Linked DNA regions of Homo sapiens: region 1 is linked to region 2. Evidence: promoter capture Hi-C in human tissues and cell types (Jung and others, 2019). All regions are on one chromosome and are shown on one strand. Each heading gives the region's core, a stretch centred on a gene start or on the middle of the fragment in contact. The rest is flanking DNA. Distances are from core to core; before and after follow the strand shown. Region 1 holds the start of FEV (FEV transcription factor, ETS family member). Region 2 holds the start of CNPPD1 (cyclin Pas1/PHO80 domain containing 1).

What was found. The method cuts DNA at HindIII sites, captures the fragments that hold promoters and counts their contacts. A contact is called where the count stands out against the background at its distance.
Region 1: a contact is called between the fragment with the promoter of FEV here and the fragment with the promoter of CNPPD1 in region 2, in 1 of the 25 tissues and cell types used here (IMR-90 fibroblasts).

Annotation. Positions count from the first base shown.
Region 1 is chr2:218,979,811-218,986,782 of GRCh38, reverse strand. FEV (FEV transcription factor, ETS family member) reads left to right here and starts at 1,599. Exons shown (of 3, transcript NM_017521.3): 1 at 1,599-1,759; 2 at 2,478-2,552; 3 at 4,527-5,696. The coding sequence starts at 1,708. The coding sequence ends at 5,116. RefSeq lists an enhancer at 6,699-6,798. The HindIII fragment of the contact is 32,237 bases long and covers 1-6,972 here.
Region 2 is chr2:219,175,373-219,182,333 of GRCh38, reverse strand. CNPPD1 (cyclin Pas1/PHO80 domain containing 1) reads left to right here and starts at 5,409. Exons shown (of 8, transcript NM_015680.6): 1 at 5,409-5,574; 2 at 6,003-6,111; 3 at 6,662-6,743. The coding sequence starts at 5,506. RETREG2 (reticulophagy regulator family member 2) reads right to left here and starts at 4,059. Exons shown (of 9, transcript NM_024293.6): 1 at 3,701-4,059; 2 at 3,306-3,412; 3 at 2,571-2,601; 4 at 2,089-2,224; 5 at 1,580-1,664; 6 at 1,129-1,272; 7 at 871-965; 8 at 559-694; 9 at 1-321. The coding sequence starts at 3,981. RefSeq lists silencers at 3,625-3,694, 5,145-5,194, 5,265-5,474, 5,595-5,654, 5,493-5,787 and 2 more and an enhancer at 3,864-4,364. The HindIII fragment of the contact is 7,594 bases long and covers 541-6,961 here.

The sequences.
Region 1 (6,972 bases), core at 350-2,849, 190 kb after region 2:
TCCCTGGCTCCTTTGCACCCTCCACGAGCAAAGATGAACACTCCAGAAGTTGCAGCAAATGAGGGTGAACATGGGCCCTGTAGAACCCCAGAAGTAGGAGTTTCCAGCCATCCTCAATCAGGCATCCCAGGACCAGGCACTTAGCAGGAGACCTGCCCATTCCCAGGCCTCCTCCACCCCTGGGCTCAAGCAGTGAGAGAGGACTTTGAGAATGCCAGTTTTGACAGTACCCGTTCCATACTGCAAGGCTGCAGAAGGTGGGCTTCTGGGCTGGAGCCTCATCTTCAGCCAGCATCCTCCTTAGCCTGCCTCTCCAGAGCCACGAAGCCCCATAGGTACCCAGAGAGACTCCAGGCCACTTGGGAACCACATCAACATCTTTGCATGAGTTAGAAATAGGAATCCTTTTCTTGGAGTGGATTCCAGCCTTGTACAGTGCACAACCCTGTCTTAACCCCTCCACCTCTCCAGCCTCGTTCAGGGATAGCCAGAATGGGAGTAGTGGTGAGGGTGGGTGGCAGACTGGGAGGACAGGGGATGGGGAAGGATGGGAGCAGAATAGTTGTACAGGGAAGTAGCAGGGGGCTCAGGAACCCATCAGGGAAAGCCAGGACAGATTCTCAACATCTTTAGAGGCCTTCAGCAGTCCAAGCCACTACTAATTTATGGGGACTGAATGAATGAGAAAAGGAGGGGAGGGAGAAGGATGAGAGGGAGAGAGAAGGCTGGAGGGGAGATGAGAGTCGGAGAGAAAAGCCTAGGAGGTAAAGAGAGACCTAGAAGGGGGCGGGGAGGACAGAAGAGGGGGCCACCCATCATAAGTTGCCAGGAGAGATGGCCCAGCACCAGGCCTGAGGCTTGGGGGCCCCAGAAAGGCAGGAAACGGGCCAAAGCAAGAAGGAGACGGGGAAGGGGTTCGGGTCTCTAGGGAAGAGCAGAGAGTGGGAGAAGAGGAGGAGGGAGCGGGGATGCGGGCAGAGATAAAGGGAGCAACGGCTGCAGGGCCGGGCGCGCAGCGACAGGCGAGAGGGAGGGAAGCGGAAATTTAAAAGTGAAGATGCAGATAACGCAGCCTGGAGACGGGAACCCGGGTGGGGATAGAGGGAGGGAGGGGGAGGAGAGTGAGCGGCGAGTGGAGCGGGAGCCGACTGGAAGAAGGGCTCTAGGGAGGGGGCTGTGGCTGCTGGGGTCCGAGGTGGGGCCGGGTACACCAGCCCCATCACTGTTTGCAGAGAGTCAGGGAGGCGGAAAAGACACGCGCTCTAGGCTCCCATCAGGGCACATGGCCCGGGCCCATCCCCCGCGCGTCTCCCCGGCTGCGGGGCGCGGGGGGCTGCCGGGTGCGCTTGGCTGTGGCGCGGCGCGTTGGAGACTTTATTGCGATGGGACGATAAGAGGGGCGGGGGCGGGGTCCTGGGGGCCGAGGCGGCAGCGCTTTAATTAAAACGGAAATTGCGGCCCCGGGCCGCGCGGGGGCCGGAGGGTTCCAAGCGGCCCCTTAGCTGGAAGCGTTTCTCCAGGACCCCCCCGCAACCCCCGCCACGCCCGGGCTGCCCCCTCCCGCCAGGCCCTGCCGGACCCGGCGCCGTCTTCTCCTCCTTGTCACCCGCGGTCGCTTCGGGCGGGGATCGGTGCCACCGAGCGCAAAGCCTGCCTCGCCCCCCTTCCCCGTCCCCCCCATCTCCCACCGCCCAGTCCCCGGCGGCGATGAGACAGAGCGGCGCCTCCCAGCCCCTGCTGATCAACATGTACCTGCCAGGTACCAGGGACCAGCCGGAGGCTGGTGGCACCGGAACCTGGGGCGGGAAGTCTAGGCTCAGGCATGGGAAGAGAGTGCTGGGGTCCAGGGGAAGGAGAAGTGTCCGGAGATTCGGGTTGCATGGAGGGCCGATTGTAATGTAGGGCACTGGGGAGACCTAAAGGCAGATAGAGAGCTCTGGGTTTCAGTGCAGGGTCTAGAGGAGTTGAAATGAGCAGATTGGGAGCCTGGGGGCCAAGAGCCGGGACTCAGGGACCCGAAGGAGCCTGAGAGGGGAAGCACGGGTCTCTGGCGTGGTGGAGTACTCTGTGGCCGAGCCGTACCAGAAGGCTGTGGTCCGCGGGCGTCTCCCCTGCGCTCTCACGGCTCCTCACCTTCCTGCTACGAGCTTCAGGCCGGCCCTCCAGGCACCCTCCTCTTCTCTTCGCGCTCCAGCTCGGCTGGCGCAGTTCCCCGCTCGGCTTTATAAGGCTCCAGCCGGCCCCTTCGGAAAGCGGATTTCCTTTTTCCTGGACGCGTTTCCTGACTTGGGCTCTATGGAGGGGCTCCGCGCAGCGCGCCTGGACCAGGCTCCGGGAGGAGGAGCCGGGTGGCCCGGGCCCCCAGCCTCGCGCCTGGGGACCACAGCACCCCCCTTAAGCCTTGGCCCGGGGCCCTTTTGTCAAGCCCACAACTTCCGCCCGGGGTTCTCCTGATTCTTTTCTTCTGCTGCTTGCAGATCCCGTCGGAGACGGTCTCTTCAAGGACGGGAAGAACCCGAGCTGGGGGCCGCTGAGCCCCGCGGTTCAGAAAGGTGAGATGGCCGGCGCGCTGGGCGGCGGAGGCGAGGTTGGTTGGGGTCAGGGCACAGGCGGACAGTAGGTGGGAGCAGTGTGGACCCAGGGTTCACACTGAAGCCCGGAGTCCTGGCCTGGTTGTGCGGAGGCCTTGGGAAGACAGTCACTTGGTTTTTGGCTCCTGCATCTCCTGAGCACCAGGAAAAGAGTTGCAGGCCAAGGCAGATGGAGAGGATCCCAGCCCCAGGCCCTTTTGCTGCTGTGTATGGTTTTCCAGGCTTTGGGGCAGGGGCTGGGACACTTAGCGTCCTTTCCCTGCTGGTAGTAGGAGCTCAAGGCCGCAGCACCAGCCGGCAATGGAACCGGGGGAATTACTCCCCAAACACAGCGGGCTTCCCAATCACTAGACCCTGGCTACTGCCACCTGCTTCACCCTCCGGCGCTGACTCACGCCGGCTGATCTCTGCTGGCCAACTCTGCCAGACGATTGCAATTGATTCCCAGGTTCACCACCAGCGCTCCACGGGTAGTCGCTAAATTACCCTTTTGACGGCTGGCTCTTCAAGCAGCGTCTCCCCACAGTCCCCATCTCAGTCGTTACCCTAGATCTCACCAAGAGACAGAAACCACAAAAACGAGGTTGGCGACTGTTTTATCCAGAAGGAAACTATGCCCAACAGGAACGGTCATCCAAGCCGCTGAGGTTGCTCCGCCTTTGGTGCCAGGTGCACCTTTGTACCCAAACCTTCCCTTGCTTCTGACCCTAAAACTTAACTCTGGGGACCAGAAACCAGGAAGCTCTTTGCTGGGCTGGCTTGAAGGGATTGGGATTGAAATTATGGGGAAGGGTAGCGTCTGGATTCTAAGCCAGTGGCTGAAAAAGTAAGAGGGGTTCAAAAGACTATATTTGAGGCAGTAAGCAGACCACTTTGAGGAAAATCCGTTTTATTCTAAAAGGGAGTGGGGGTAATTGTATCGGGATTTTTCTCTGCCTGTCTGCTTGAGGCTCCAAGACAGGGGAGCAGGAATTCTGGGACCCCACTCTCTAACCACTCGCATATCCTGGAAAAACCTCCTTGCTGCCTCCAGCAACCGAATTCGGAGGGAGATCACACAAAGACAGGAGGAGGTTGGTAGCCAAGCACAACAGCTGCTCGGTCCGTTCCCCTCCTCAGAGTTGTTCATCAGGCCCCGAGAACTATGGCACCTTCGTAGGCAGGGAATCCCGCCTGTTCCGAAAATAAGAGGCCAAATTCTCAGGGCCAGCGCAGAGGCCTGCGCACCCGAAGGTGGCTAGGATAGTGAGCCCATGAGAGCTTGCCCCTCCTGTCACGTATAGGGGGCCACTGTTCGTTCCTACTCCTGTCGGATGTGGTGTCCCAAGGGAGCCAGCCACCACTCCACCTCAGGAGTAGCCTGTCCAACTACGTCTTTGGGGACTCGGGACTAGCTGGGCCTTGTCCAGCAGTGGTTGGGGTCGTCCTGCTGCACGCCTGTCCCTTCCCACCTCTGGATGTGGTCCAGCTGGGATGGGGCAGTCCGATCATTCTGCCCAAGGCCGCCCTGTACGGTTGTGCGTCTTTTCCCTAAATAAGGGCGCCCGGCTGAGATGGAGAGTGGCGGCGGATATCTGTCCTTGCTCGCCTTGGAAAGCCAAGTGCCTTGGTGCGCCGCTGCGCTCACGTGGGGGGAGGCAATGCTTCCCCTTCCCCCCAACCCCCAAGTTCCACAAAACCGTGCATCTGGAAAGCTACGTGCTCTTCAGTGGAAGCCGCATTTCCATTGTGCAAAAGCGCGGTAAGGCTACACACCACTCTGCTGATCAGCCCCTCCGGGGCCGGCCTCTCCCGCCGAACGCAGCTGCAGTTTGACTTGCACTTTTCCTCCCCCAGTGCCGGTTCCTGCCGGGGTGGGTCAGTTTCCCGCCAGCACTCTTCCCCAGTTCCCGCCTCCCCGCTCCCGCCTGTGGCTGACCGCCCCCCTCCCCACAGGCAGCGGACAGATCCAGCTGTGGCAGTTTCTGCTGGAGCTGCTGGCTGACCGCGCGAACGCCGGCTGCATCGCGTGGGAGGGCGGTCACGGCGAGTTCAAGCTCACGGACCCGGACGAGGTGGCGCGGCGGTGGGGCGAGCGCAAGAGCAAGCCCAACATGAACTACGACAAGCTGAGCCGCGCCCTGCGCTACTACTACGACAAGAACATCATGAGCAAGGTGCATGGCAAGCGCTACGCCTACCGCTTCGACTTCCAGGGCCTGGCGCAGGCCTGCCAGCCGCCGCCCGCGCACGCTCATGCCGCCGCCGCAGCTGCTGCCGCCGCCGCGGCCGCCCAGGACGGCGCGCTCTACAAGCTGCCCGCCGGCCTCGCCCCGCTGCCCTTCCCCGGCCTCTCCAAACTCAACCTCATGGCCGCCTCGGCCGGGGTCGCGCCCGCCGGCTTCTCCTACTGGCCGGGCCCGGGCCCCGCCGCCACCGCTGCCGCCGCCACCGCCGCGCTCTACCCCAGTCCCAGCTTGCAGCCCCCGCCCGGGCCCTTCGGGGCCGTGGCCGCAGCCTCGCACTTGGGGGGCCATTACCACTAGACGGGGCGGTCGGGTGCCTGCGGCCTCGCCCGCACGCCTAGAGTCTCGCCCGATCCCATCGGCATCCCGGGGAGGGCCCGGGAGCCTCCGTCAACCGTCCTCTAATCCAGAGTTTACTCCACCTGCCGCACTTAGCAGGGGGACGGGACCGAAGCTCCCTCAATCCTTGTCTGGTACTAGATTTGCTCCTGTCCCACCCCGCAGTCCCCTGAGGAGGGCGATGTGCGCCCTCTTTCACTTTTTTTCTTCTAGGTCTCCAGGTCCCGGAGGGGATTTGTGGACCTCTCTTGTCTCCCCACCACTCCAGTGCATTTCCGCCTGGCTCCTAGAAGCCCCATTCAATATCACTACTCTTTAACGAGTGCCAAATCTTTTCCCACTTTTGCTCTTCCCCAAGGAACTGCTCCCACCTCAGCACGTGGAGGCCTCTCACGGTCCTCCTTCCTGGGACCTGAGCAGGTTTGGTGAAAGCCACCGTCCTCCGTGACACACGGCCCCCTTCCTCCTGTCCCCACACTCCCAGGAGAAACTCCCGGTGTGTTTCTGACCCTTTCAGCCCCATTAAAGCTCCTGAGCTCTCCGCTGCCTCCTCTCTCTCTGTTCTTTGCTGCGCCAGAACCCGTGGTTAGGGGAAAGCAGGGAGAGGCTCATCTCGGGCCTGAGCAGAGAACTGCCAAGGAAAACGTCCCGAGAAGGAGGGTGGCGCGGGCTTGGGCGCCGCCCGCAGGCAGCGAGAGGCCTGGATGGTGGGCTCAGCCCGAGGGAGCCGCCTTGCCTCATACCCACCCTGCCAGGCGACCCCAGCTCACCTCACTCCCTTCCGGTTGCCCTTCACCCCACTCTATCCCTACTTCCGTCCCAGCAGACACCCGCACCCCACCCTCCCCATCTCACCCACCCTTCCACCCAACCCTCACCCCACCCCATCCCAGTAGGCACCCAACCCCCACTCCCACCCCACCCAACCCTCCCCATCTCACCCACCCTTCCACCCGCCCCTCACCCCACCCCATCCTAACAGGCACCCACATCACATCTTCCCCCTCTCGCCCATCCTTCCACCCGCCCCTCACCCCATCTTATCCCAATACGCACGCGCACCCCACCCCCTCATCTCACCCACCCTTCCACCCGCCCCTCACCTCATCCCGACCTTCATCCCTCCTGGCGGAGCTTCACCCCACCTCAGCCTTCCCTCAGCCACTTTATTTCATCCCCTTCCCCAACCACCCTCCCCTCCTCGTCCTGCTCTCACTTAGACTTTCTCTCCCTATCCCTCACAAACCGTCCCCTCCCCCCAACATCTGTCGCCGTCTTTCTTCTGCTCGGCCTCCTCATTTGCAGAAGAAGGGGTCTCTCTCCCACCCGGCTCCTGCGCTTGCGGCTCGCAGCCTCCCCTCGGAGTCTAGCTCCTGCACCTCCTTCTCGCGGGCGGTGCGCGCCCTCTGCTGGTCGGAGGAGGGTACGCTGGGGAGAGCTTTGTACCTAAGCCGGGGAGGATTTTGTGCGCCGCGCAGTGCAAACCGCAAGTGCCTGGCCAGACTGAGGACTGCAGGACCCAGTCGTCTCCAGGTCTCCTTTGGCCCTCAGAGAGGAGGGTGAAAAGGGGAACGCTGCATCCCAGGTCTGACCTCTGGAAGCCTGGGAAGCGGGTCGAGTGGATTATTCTCCTGGCTGGGCCCCTTTCCTCACCACCTAGAGGCCCTTCTGAATACTGCGCCCTCCCACCAGGGCCACTGCCCTTAAGTTCTATTCGTTTTTAAACGCCTTCGCTTAGAGGAAAACAACACTGGGGAAGGTGCCTAAAGGGACAGTCCCCAACCTCAAGGCAACTGCTCCTCAAGGCAAGCCCCTGG
Region 2 (6,961 bases), core at 4,160-6,659:
GCAGAGCAGTGAGGCCACCACTCACTGTCTCGGGGCTCAGTGTCTCCACTGGTCCTCCAGGGGAGCATTTCACTCCATCTGGGGGGGACCCTGCCCCATTGAAGTGCGTGTTCACAAAGTGGAGGGGGGATGAGAGCCGCAACAAGGTTTCCTTAGCTGCCACATCCTCTTCCTCTTCCTCCGAGTCCAGGGCTTGCCTTGACAGAGCTTGAGGACGGCCTAGTAGGTCTTCGGGAGGGGCCAGCTCTCCCTCCTCTCCCTCCCCTAGGTCCCGGCTTAGGGTCTCCTCTGGTTCACTTGGCAGGCTCTGCTGGTCCAAATCTGTGCAGAGAACAAAGAATTAAGAATGGGCCTGCTGCTGGTCTGATTAGCCACAACAGACAATGAGTTCAAGGATGAGAACTCAAGACATGGAAAGCTGGGCCAAGCCTTAGGTGTTAAGGTCTTTTAGGAGCTGAGAGAATTAGAGAGTGAGTGGGCCAGAGAGCACAGTAAGTACCCATGGTAGGGAACACAAAGATTGTGGCGGGGAGCAGGGCAGCAAAGGGCTCCCCATACCCTCGGAGACATCAGTCAGCTGCGGAGTTGTGGCCCGGGATACGGAGAAGCCACCACTCTCCAAGATAGAAGCCTCCTCATCTGACAGCTCTGAGTCTGTAATGGCCAAGGCCAATGCTGTTTTCTTCACATCCACCTGGCAGGAGAACCAGGATGAACACGACATGTGAGGGGATAAGAGAACCAATTTATCAGGAGCATCCCCTCTCCCAAAACCTCTGGCTTCCACCTCCTTTGGAGGTGGCAGCTCCAAAGCAGAAAGATTTTTCCTCTGGCTTTCTATTTGACACCCCCGCTTTCCCTGGACCTCACCACTGGGGAGAAGCCAGCCAGCTCTGCCTCGCTTTCACTCTCTGTCTCTGCCAGTGGCTCATCACCTCCTGGGGGTGCATTCTTCCCCTGACGCTCTAGAAAAGCAAGAGTAGTAGAGCAATGACCAAGCATGAATGATGGGAGGGGAGACAAACACAGCTAAAGAACTGGAGAAGATCTCAATTCCAGGGCATCTCATGAACCCCAAGCCAAGGCCCTCCCGCTCTTTCACCCTCCTGGCTTAGGGCAGCCCCTTACTCCTCTTGTCGTGTTTGTGATGCAGGGCATTGGCTTCTGCCTTCATGCTGTAGTCCAGCTGCATGAGCAGGGGCTCCAGGCGAGTGTACATCCTCTGGATCAGCTCATGATAAACCACCAGGGGCCACAGCAGGATACTCAACACTATGGGTTAAGAACGTGAACTAAGAGCTCCCTACGCCAATTTCCTAAGAGCCCCCATTCAACTGGTCCCTAAACTGAAGTGCTGAAGGTAGGCAAGGTCCTTTCCCAAGGCTGTGCCAACCTCTTCTTGCCACATCCACTGCCCTCCTCCCCAGGTAAGTCTTCCACAGTTACTAATACTAAAGCATCCCTGGAGATCTCCACAAATCAGAAACTGAGCAGAGAGAGCATAGTCTTCCCTCTGGGTCAGTCCAAGGAAAGAAGAAAGGAGAGGGCTTTAAATAGGGCAGGGACAGACCCTACTCACAGACAATGTAGGAAATCATAATCCCTGGAACATAGTGTCCCAACACAGCCAACACAGCACAGCCAGAGCAGACTCGAACGCAGAACTGCAGAGAAGAGCAAAAGTCTAAGAACATCACGCTGAGATATGCGCCCCGCTCGGCTGGGTAAGAAACTACTGCTCAGCTGGTAGAAGGATGGGTATGTACTCAAGGAATGGGGTGGTCCAGTTTGGTTAAGAGGATGCTCAAGACCACCAATTCAGGAAGCTGGCAATACATAATGCCCACCACCTGTAATTCACACTGGTCTGCCTTGGCAGGAGAAAGTGTCAGGCTATCAAAAGCTTATTTCCTGAGGTGAGACTGCCTCCTGCACCAGGGATTAGCTGTGAATGTTGCCTCAAGAAGGCGCCCAGGCCTCTTCTTTCAGGGTCTCCAAGCGGGGAGTTTATATCACTCCACTCCCATCCCCCGCCACCTCTATTCCCCTTCAGTGTAGTGAACTGTTGTATGATGTAGGGGAGGTTACCTGAGCTGGATTCTGCCTCTTGTACTGCAGCAGCTCCTGCAGGTGAATCTGGAAGGTGAGCCAGCTCTCAGCCAGGTATCTGCACAACTCGGGCACACTCAGCAGGTGCGGCCGGGCGCCTGACCCCGCACCCTCACTGGGGAGACATGACATGACCCCTGGAGGCCTCAGATACCAGCTTCCTAGACACTTAAATCCCTCTGAGAATGCCAAAGATATCTTTAGTCTAAAAAAGCAAATGACCCCACCTCTCAAAAGGAGGCTGTCCTGGTCTTAGAAGCAAAGCCAGGAGGACCCAACCCTCTGCCCCAAAAGGAGCAGGCACGCAAACACCTACACAGGAGCCTAGGACCATGAAAAACCCATGGCTTGTTACCAGTTCATTCACAATGCTGGGGCACTGCCCTGCTCCATGGTGACACTGGCACCAGCAAGCAGGACAGGATGTGGGCATTTGTCTTCAAGAGGTGGCCTGTACTCACCTGTCAGAGTGTGGCTCCTCTGGGGATGATGCTAGAGAGAGAGGAGGGGGGCAAATTATTGAGTGGTAGGGGCCCTGGGAGACACTCCCCAAGGCAGAAATAGTTGTCCCTCCTCTGCAGCCCCAGAGCACCTTCTTCAGATGCCAATGGGGGAGCTGTTACATGTTTTTGTTTGCGTCTGTCTCCTTTAGACATTACCCTTCTCCAACATAAGAACTAGATTTTACTCATGCTTATCTCCCAAGCAACTCACATACAGCCTGTCACCTACTAAGTAAATTATATGGATAACAAGAAAAACAACACTGACGTTCTATTTATAAGGCTTATATGTGAAACACTATCATAAGTATAGCATGTGTATTAACTCATTAATCCTCTCCTCACCTCTCTATGAAGTAAGTTCTATCATCTGTGTTTTACAGATAAGGAAATTGAGACAAACAGAAATTGAGCTACTTTTACAAGGTCACAGCAATGGTAAATGGCAGAACAGAGAATGGAACCCAGGTAATATGGCTGCAGACTTCACCATCTTAACCACTGCACCTACAGTAGTATTAGTTTGGGAAAGGGGCAATTCTCATTTTAGGGAATTCCGTACAAAAAGGAAGTGGGCCATGCCTGGGAGGCAGGTGGCCTGCTGTACGTTCCCCTCGCCACTTAACCCCACCCAGCGGAATCAGGCACCAAGCAAGTACCCAATGGGTGCTTACTGAATGAAGAAACACTCACCTGAAACGTCAGGGAGAAAGCGAGGCTGCCAGAGATCCAGCAGAAAATAGGCCAAAAGTGAGACGCTGAGTAGGAAGAAGGGCCGGAGGGACGAGGAAGACAGCAACCTTAGGGAGAGACAGGCACCTCAGCAGTGAGTGGGTGAGACAGGCTCATGCATCCATCTCAGAAGGTGGAAAGGCGCCTACTGATGGGGTAATGGCACCTCCAGGCCTAACTCGCGACTCACGACTCAGAGATAGAAAAAAATGGGCAATTCAAGCGGATGTCAGCCTGCAAAAACTGGGGATGGGTCATGCCCCCAGGCCAAGTGATAACCCAGAAAGGGGAATGGTGCTCTCGACCCCTCCCTCCCCCGCTCATCCCGGCCCCGCCCCCTCCTCCGCGGCCGTTACCAGAAGAGGCCGTTGAGCGCGGCCGCCGTGACCAGGCTGTGCAGCGGCTTCTCCCACACCAGCAACCGCTGCGCCGCCGCCAGCACCGCCTCCCAGCCGCGGAGCCGCAGCCACAGCGTCGTGGCCAGGCGTCCCACCGCCTCGGCCGTGGCCGCCTCCTCCTCTGCCTCACTGGTGGCCTCACTCATGCCTAGGCTCAGACCCAGACCCAGGCCCAGGCTCAGGCCCATCCCCGGCCCCCCACCCGCGCCAGTGTTACCCCCGCCACCGCCGCTCGCCATAGCCCCGCCGCAGCCGCCGCCCGAGCCCGCGAGGAGCCAGGGCTGCGCGGCCGCCGCCGGGGGCGCGTCAGGCGGAAGGGGGCGCCGCGGAGGACAGCAGAGGTTGCGGACGAGCGTCACGTGACTGCGGAGCGCTGAGCCCGTCACGTGACGCGGCCTAACCCCCCCCCCCCCGGATAGGGCGGGCCGCGCATGCGCCCCGGCGGCTGCCGCTGACACTGCGCCTACACAGGTTCGTTTTCTGGTTGACGAAGTACCCCGGGTTCCGAGTCCGGGTCTAGGTCCAGGCAGTCGAGCCCGTTTTCTTATCCCACAGTAGGCAGGGCGGCTAGGGAGTGTGGTGCTGCCCCGGTATCCCCGTGTGGGGCAGGAAGTGGGCTTCCAGATTCCCAGTATCCCCGGTAGGGTCTGCTTCTGCTCGCTCGGGAAGGGCGGTGGCCGTCCCATTACTCAACCAACCCTCAACGCACTGGTCCTCCCAGTTCCCTCCCCTCAGTGGGTAAACAAACACACACCAGCGCTTGACTCGACAGACTCGAAAACAACATCTACTCAGAAAAGTTGTTTCTTTCCTATCTCCTTAAACTTTCCCACTTCCACATATCGGAGCTTCTTCCCACCTCGGCCTACTCAAGCATGAGATCGGAGGCGGGAGGTGGGTTTCAACACAAAACCTTGGGTAGATGCAGTTTACTTTTGGGTGGACGTGTTGACACGTTTTGAGGCCTTACATTCGCTTAAGATCACAGAATTTCCTCAGTAGCCTTAGGTTTAAAAGTTCAAATTACAGTAAAAAAAAAAAACACCCTGAGTTTCTCTTCCTTTTCATAGTTCACCCACTGCTAAATTTCCTGTGTGTCCTTTCAGACGCTTTTCATATGCATTGCTGAGTATGTATAATATCTCTCCTAAAAAGCAACTGGGAACAACTTCCTGTTGTGCGTTTCGTCTTATTCACATTAACTTCTCCATTGCTACGCCTGGCTTGTTCATCCTCAGTGCGGCGTGGTCCCCCCTACGAATTGTCCCCATTTCTCAGAGGCGCCTGGGGCTTGGCCACGTTCCGTGAGACCAGGAGTTCGAGTCCGGTTCCTGCCCGCGGGTCGGGGCGGGAGGCTGGGCCAGATGGGCGGCAGGAAGTGCCAGGCGCTGACTTGCAGGCGGCACCCCCGCGGCTTGTAAACGCCGGGCGGACGCGGCACAGGCGGAGTACGCGCCTCGCAGCCGCATCTCCTTTCTGCTCCGCGAGGTGAGCGTCGCACGGACGCTTGACACCTCCCTTCCCGGGCCTAGGGCCCCCGCGCGCCGCGCCAAGCCCGGGGCGGAACAGGAAGAGGCGCCCAGTTCAGCCCGGGCCCCGCCTTCCGCCGCCGGGGGGAGGGAGCTGCGAGGGCGAGGGCGAGGACGGCGGCCCGCCCCGGGGAGGCAGGCTGGCAGGTGGACAGGCGGGCAAGGACAGCTCCGCGAGCCCCCTACAACTCGTTTCCTTCCGTTCACCTTCGCAGGGCGGCGACTGGCGGCGCGATGGACCTGACCGGGCTCCTGCTGGACGAAGAAGGCACCTTCTCCCTCGCCGGCTTCCAGGACTTCACGGTGAGTGGGGGTCCCGCCCCCTCCCCGGCCTCCCGGCGCGCCCCTCCCGGCCTGAGCGGCGCTGCGAGCTCGCCTGACTGCTGTGCCGGGACTGGGCGGCAGCTGCTCGAGCAGTGCTTCCTTGAGGCCGCGGCTGCTTGGGCCGGGAGGGAGAGCCGCGGAGTATAGGAATGGGCGTAGGGGTGGCCACACGAGGGCCCTTCTCGGAGAACTTCTCCCGGGGAACCCTCGATGGGGGTGGGGGCATTCCTCCCTCTATGGACCAGGCTGCCATTGGCAAGCGATTTACAGAACGCGGGTCTGGGTAAGGCACGGGCCCCCTAGCAGCGAGGCCGGCCTGTCCCCTGCCCCGCCTTCCAGCCCAGAGCCAGGATCTGCATCATACCTTTCCGTGCCCTTCACCCTCCGCTGCCCCTGCCCTGTTTCAGTTCCTCCCAGGACACCAGAAGCTGAGTGCCCGGATCCGAAGGAGGCTCTACTATGGCTGGGACTGGGAAGCCGACTGTAGCCTGGAGGAGCTCTCCAGCCCGGTGGCAGGTTAGGCAGTGTTGTGTGACTGGACAAGTGAGAAGCATGAAAATGGGATTGTCATCAGGCAGAAAATGGCTCGAGGTTTGCCCCGTGGCTACACTGTCTCTTCATTGCTAGCTCGTTGGTACTTGGTTCAAGAGGGCAGTTTGCATTTCCCATTCTTTTAGCCCAAATGAATAAAAAACATTGCTGCCACATATATCTATACAAATCACTCTTGATTTATATATTGAAAAGCTAATTTTCGAAGGATATCCATCATATGTTCCCCAAGTAAACAAGGCATGTTTATGCCACAGATGAACAGCAGTGACAGATAAATCTGGATAGTTTGATGTGACAGGGCAATAAGCTTTCCTGTTAGAATGAGCTGAAATTCGAACTTGGAATGGGCTTTTTGTCTCAGTGTGTGAGAATTTGATCTCTATTTTGTTACTATGGTCCTGTCCCCAAGGCCTCAGAAAATACAGATCTGGGTCTTCTGCTAGCAGTGGGGACTGGTGTGTTGGGTGTGGGTGCTTGTTTGCTCACTCGGCCTTCCTTCTGTCCCTTGCAGACATTGCTGTCGAACTGCTCCAGAAGGCAGCCCCCAGCCCTATTCGCCGACTCCAGAAGAAATATGTAGCTCATGTGTCCCGGTGAGCCTGGAAATGAGGATAGGATGAGAGTGTTTGGGCCCTAGAGAAAGGGGAATCGTCTTTTCTTTCTTTTCTTTCTTTCTTTTTTTTTTTTTTGAGACAGTCTCACTTTGTCACCCAGGCTGGAGTGCAGTGGCACAATCTCGGCTCACCGCAACCTCCGCCTCCTGGGTTCCAGTGATTCTTGTGCCTCAGCCTCCCCAGTAGCTGGGACTACA